2 separate regions of the Homo sapiens genome follow, and region 2 is linked to region 1. The links are contacts of gene promoters, found by promoter capture Hi-C in blood cells and fetal thymus (Javierre and others, 2016). All regions are on one chromosome and are shown on one strand. The core of a region is centred on a gene start or on the middle of the fragment in contact, and the rest is flanking DNA. Distances in the headings are between cores, read along the strand shown. Region 1 holds the start of METTL16 (methyltransferase 16, RNA N6-adenosine). Region 2 has its middle 14 kb from the start of PAFAH1B1.

Region 1 (3,007 bases), core at 259-2,758:
GAGACAGTGGCATGTTAGGGCTCTGCCACACATTAAGGAAAATTCTACAGACTACATAGCTGACATCAGTGCACACACAACATAATACTCTGAATATATGTGAAACAAATTAAATTACAGACATGGCAGATTCGATTCATTTCCTACATTATTCAACTTTTCTGGTCAGAACAGATACAGAATGAGTAAATACAACCACTTCTTTTCTAACTAACCTCCCAATATAGGCAATGAGTTCTTAGCTAAATATAACCTATTCTTCAGAGTTTAACTGGGCATCAATTCTTTTTTTTTTCTTCTTGTTGAGACAAGGTCTTCCATTCTGTTGCCCAGAGTGCAATGATGGAATCATAGCTCCCTGCAGCCTCCAACTCCTGAGATCAAGCAATCCTCCCGCCTGAGCCTCCCAAGCAGCTGGGACTACAGGTACAGAGCACTGCACCTGGTTAATTTACTTCATTTTTTGTAGAAAGGGAGTCTGGCTTTGCTACCCAGGCTCTAGCTTCAATTTTCTACACAGAATTTACCCATCTGGCATTCCATATATTTTACTTACTTTAAAAAATCTCCCGTCAGTAAGTTTCAAGAGGGTAAATATTTTGTCTGTCTTGTTCACCGCATATCCCAACGCCTAAAATAGGGCCTAAGAGAGTAGGCACTCAAGTATTTGTTGATTGAAACCACGATAGAACTCTTCCCTGTCTGGACCACCGACACAAAGCACCCTCACTGAGTTTCAAAAAAAGCTCAGCCCATGGACTGGAACTTTTCTTCCCGGTTACTTGAGTCAGTCCAGAAAGCCACAGTTAATAGTAGAACCCTGAGAATGAGGCTTTCCCTTTTTTTTTTTTTCTTTCTCATCTCCATGCTTCTGTTTCCTTGGTTCCTCTTGACCATTAACCCTCTTCAACTACCACTCTCTTGATACACAGCCTGTAAAACAGTCTAAATTCCAATTTCAGAACTTCAAATTCTTTCTGCACAGATCCCTCCCACTTCCACACCAATCTACATCTTCTCTCTTCGCCTTCTCTCATAAATCCGACGTTTCCCACTAGTCCTGCCACTGCCGTTCTTTCCATGCCCTCATTTTATCAGCTCAGTTTGTCTTCCCGCCTCAGTTTTGGATCTCTCTAAACCTCCTAAACACCGGGGAGTCTTTCCTACTTCAGTCCTAGTCTCTATTCTATTCGCCAACTCCTCCCACTCATCCACTCTCAACACCCCCGCGTGCGCACACACAGCCACATCAGGTCTCCCCTCCTAGACCCCGAAGTCGGCACCTCACTAGCCCAAAACTCAAGAATGAGGAACCCGTGTGATCCACGGGTTAAGTGACCCATGATAGTAAATCTGCGTGAGAGATATAAGTGACCCACCTCTGAGGCCGAGGTTCCTGCCAGACGTCGTGTCTGGCGTGGGCCTGTACAACCCTAGAATCTTAAAGCAGCCGCATAGCGAAGCTCCTAGAAACGCAGATGATACGCTCCCAGCGCGCCGCCATCTTGTGAAGCCATCTAGCCTCGTGATTGGACACATCCCTCTCGCGCGACCTGTGGCTGATCTTGAAGAAAGAAGAAACCCTCGCGACACCTGGGGTTTGCTGCTCCTAACAGAAGGCGCGGGGGCGTGGTGACGAGCGGAGTCCTTTGAGGTATGGCAGGAGGAGGACATGCGTTCGAATTCGCGAGAAAACTTATTTAAAAGAAAAAGAAACAAGTTTTCCGGGCCCTGCTGCAGACTTACCTCTCACACTCACTGGGATTGGGCAGGTTATGAAGATGAGGGTACGAGACTTGGGTGTGATGGCGTGCAGTGAGCCCTTTTTGTGCAACAGGTGTGTCCTCAGCCGATGTCTCACTCACTGAATTGTAAGAGATATAAGCCTGTGGGTTGGGGAAGAGTACTCTCGTTTACAGCGAAAGAACTGAGGATCCGGCCGGACGCGGCGGCTCACGCTTGTAATCCCAGCACTTTGGGAGGCTGAGGCGGGCAGATCACCTGAGGTCAGGAGTTCAAGACCAGCCTGGACAACATGGTGAAACCCCGTCTCTACTAAAAATACAAAAATTAGCCGGGCGTGGTGGCGGGCGCCTGTAATCCCAGCTACTCGGGAGGCTGAGGCAGGAGAATCGCTTGAATCCGGGAAGCGGAGGTTGCAGTGAGCCAAGATCGCACCACTGCACTCCAGCCTGAGCGAAAGAGCAAGACTCTGTCTCAAAAAAAAAAAAAAAAGGGGGGGCCTGCCTACGTCCTCGTCGTTAATGTGAACGCTTCTGGCAAACTATTACCATAAAATTGGGAGATAGTAAGGATTAAGGAATGGAGACTTATACACAAGTGAGTACCAGTAGTCACCCAAGGAAAGCTGAGGAGGTGTTTTCATAATCTGTTGTGTAACAAACCGCCCCAAAACGTAAGACTTAAAACAACCACCATTTTACTTGCTCACAGTTCTGCAATCTGGGCTGGGATTAGCCCACCCGTTCTGCTGGTCTTGCCAGTGGTCATAGCAACAAGTGGGGGCTGGTTCCGCTGAAAGAACTGGGTCTCTCTCCCTGTAGTCCAAGTTCTCTCCCTGTCCACGTGGCCTTTCCATGTAATTTGTCTAGCAGAGTAGGATGACATTTTTTTTTTCCCCCGAGATGGAGTTTCTTATTGCCCAGGCTGGAGTGCAATGGCGCCATCTCGGCTCACTGCATGCAACCTCTGCCTCCTGGGTTCAAGCGATTTTCTTGCCTCAGCCTCCCAAGTAGCTGAGTAGCTGAGATTACAGGCGCCCGCCACCATGCCCAGCTAATTTTTTGTATTTTTAGTAGAGACGGGGTTTCATCCTGTTGGCCAGGCTGGTCTCAAACTCCTGACCTCAGATGATCCACCCGCCTCGGCCTCCCAAAGTACTGAGATTACAGGCATGAGCCATCGTGCCCCGCCAGAATACTTCTTACATGTTGGCTCGGGGCTCCCAAAAGGGCAAAAGTGGAAGCTGCCAGGCCTTCTTAAAGCG
Region 2 (2,772 bases), core at 106-2,605, 68 kb after region 1:
GAAATGAATCATACCCCTAAATTTAAACTTAAAGCTATAAACTTTCAGAAGAAAATATTTATAACTTATGGACAGGCAAAAATTTCATAGATAAGACACACAAAAAACATGAACCGTAAAAAATGTTTCAATTAGACTCAATAAATGAAAACCTCTGCCCTCCAAAAACACTGTTAAGAAAATGAAAAGACAAGACACAAATTGAAAGAAAATATTTTAAAAACACACATCTGATAAAAGCTTTGTATCCGGGGCTGGGTGTGGTGGCTCACATCTGTAATCCCAGTGCTTTGGGAGGCTGAGGCGGGCAGATCACTTGAGGCTAACAGTTCGAGACCAGCCTGGCCAACATAGTGAGACCTCCCCCCATCTCTATTAAAAATTAAAAAAAGGAAAAAAGTGGGCAAAATATATAAATAGATCTCCACTAGGTAAGAGAAAAAGATGGCAAGTACATGAAAAAAAGTTCAATGTCATTAGCCATCGGGTGCAAATTAAAACCATAATGAGATACCACCACGTACTTATTAGAGTGGTTAAAATAAAAATAAGCCGGGCGTGGTGGCACATGCCTGTAATCCCAGCACTTTGGGAGGCCAAGGCGGGCGGATCACGAGGTTCACACGGTGAAACCCCGTCTCTCCTAAAAAAATACGAAAAAAATTAGCCGGGCATGGTGGCAGGTGCCTGTAGTCGCAGCTACTCGGGAGGCTGAGGCAGCAGAATGGTGTGAACCCGGGAGACGGAGCTTGCAGTGAGCCGAGATTTTGCCACTGTACTCCAGCCTGGGTGACAGAGCGAGACTCCGTCTCAAAATAAATAAATTAATTAATTAAATTAAATAAATTCATAATACGAAATGTTGTAGAGGATACAGAATAACTGGAAGTTTCATACATATACATTGCAAGTGGGAATGTGAAAAGGGTACAGCCACTTTGGAAAATAGGCAGTTTACTATATTTTTAAAGTTATTATTATTATTATTATTATTATTATTATTATTATTATTATTTTGAGATAGGCTCTTGCTCTATCTCCCAGGCTGGGGTGCAGCGGCAGGATCACAGCTTACTACAGCCCTGACCTTCTGGGCTCAATCAATCCTCCCACCTCAGCCTCCCGAGTAGCTGGGACTACAAGTGCACACCACCATGCCCAGCTAATTTTTGTCTTTGTTTCAAAGAGCTGGGGTTTTGCTAGCCCTGGTCTCCAACTCCTGGGTTCAAGTGATCAGCTCTCCTTACCCTCCCAAAGTGCTGAGATAACAGGTGTGAGCCATTAGCCAGGCATAATGACCCATGCCTGTAATCCCATATACTTGGGAGGCTGAGGCATGAAAATCGCTTGAACCCGGGAGGCAGAGGTTGCAGTGAGCCGAGATCGTGTCACTGCTTTCCAGCCTGGGCAACAGAGCAAGACTCCGTCTCAAAAAAAAAAAAAAAAGAAAAGAAAAGAAATGACAAAGATTGCTTTGCTGGTCCTGGTTCCAGATGCTTTCAGGACCCTGCTGCATACCTGTCCATCAGTGCTATGAAAGCACCTCTCTATCCTTTCAAAACTGCCCTTTTTTTTTCCCTTAGGCTCACTCAAATGGGTTTCTGTTCTTTAGAACCAAAGAGTCCTACCTACCACAATAGAGGTAAAAAGAGTTATCATGGAGTAGAAAGACAAGTCTTGGACCCAGCCCATGGGGACTGAGAAGCAGAGCTGACTTTCTTGGCAATGGGTGCTGTGAGCCAGAGACGGAATCCTCCCCTCTTCTGTTCCTTATAAAATAAATCGCATGAAAGGTTTAGGCCAGCTGAGTGAACATTAGCTATACAAAGTGAACAAGGGAGGGTATTATCCAGGTTAAACTATCATTTGTTTCCAGCTGGGAAGGAGCAGAGAGGAGAAACTGGGAGGAAGAAAAGGCAGTGGAGGAGGGGAGGAAAAAAACTGACATGATATCGTGCCAGAAAATGCTTATATATTCACATTTGGAGGCTTCTTACCTTCGGATGAAAAATGCTGGTCAATTGCCAGGTATTTGTTTGTAAATTAGGAATTTATAGTACATTTAAGTTTACTGTAAATAAATGAACCTTCCATAAAATCAGCTTTCTGACACATTTCCAGACATTTCTCCAAAGCAGCCCATGAGAAATCCTGACTCTCTTTACCAGCAGAATTAAATAGGAGTTTTAGTTTCTCTGCCATGTTCCTGCCTTTGCCGTTAGCTGGGATGAACAGAATGAATGATGCACAGAGGCGGGTGAGACAATGGGGCTGATTCATGGTTTGGGAAAACAGGGAATTGTCACAGAGCTAACACTGGCCCTCCTTTTTGCCGAGGACACTGCAATGTTTAGCTGAAAGCATCTTGCTTGGATTCTTCCAACCACTGGGTAAGCGTCTAAATGAGAAAAGCAATATGGGGCTCCCAGGATCCCTGGGGACGCTTAAAACAATCCTGAGATACCCTGGCAAAGCTTGTGATCTTTGTAAACAAGCAGAGAGATGTTTTTCAAACAGCTGTTAATTTCATTAAGAAGCCTAATTTTAAGGTCCCAGAACAGGCATTTCTTTTTATGCCAGGATCATCTCTGAGTTTTATATTTGCATGCAGTCCTGGTAGCTTAGCTTGGATGTCAGTGTTAGTTAAGCTTACATTTGGATAGGCATTTTCACTTGAGCTTCAAAAAGAATTTACCCTTAGACTAGACTACATTTGACCAAACTAAAGTTAACGGGCAATTGAGAACTACTTATTTACATTTTTATCGTTAT

The links. Contacts are between HindIII fragments. The CHiCAGO score rates a contact against its expected background, and 5 or more counts as called.
Region 2: a contact is called between a fragment that was not itself captured here and the fragment with the promoter of METTL16 in region 1, in 1 of 17 cell types (endothelial precursors). The highest score is 5.5, in endothelial precursors.

What each region holds. Positions count from the first base shown.
Region 1 is chr17:2,510,380-2,513,386 of GRCh38, forward strand. It overlaps METTL16 (methyltransferase 16, RNA N6-adenosine), which reads right to left and starts at 1,509. Exons shown (of 10, transcript NM_024086.4): 1 at 1,380-1,509. RefSeq lists enhancers at 1,380-1,589, 1,660-1,709. The HindIII fragment of the contact is 19,706 bases long and covers 1-3,007 here.
Region 2 is chr17:2,578,526-2,581,297 of GRCh38, forward strand. No RefSeq gene overlaps it. Among named protein-coding and RNA genes, the nearest start is that of PAFAH1B1, 14 kb to the right of the region's middle. The HindIII fragment of the contact is 2,234 bases long and covers 239-2,472 here.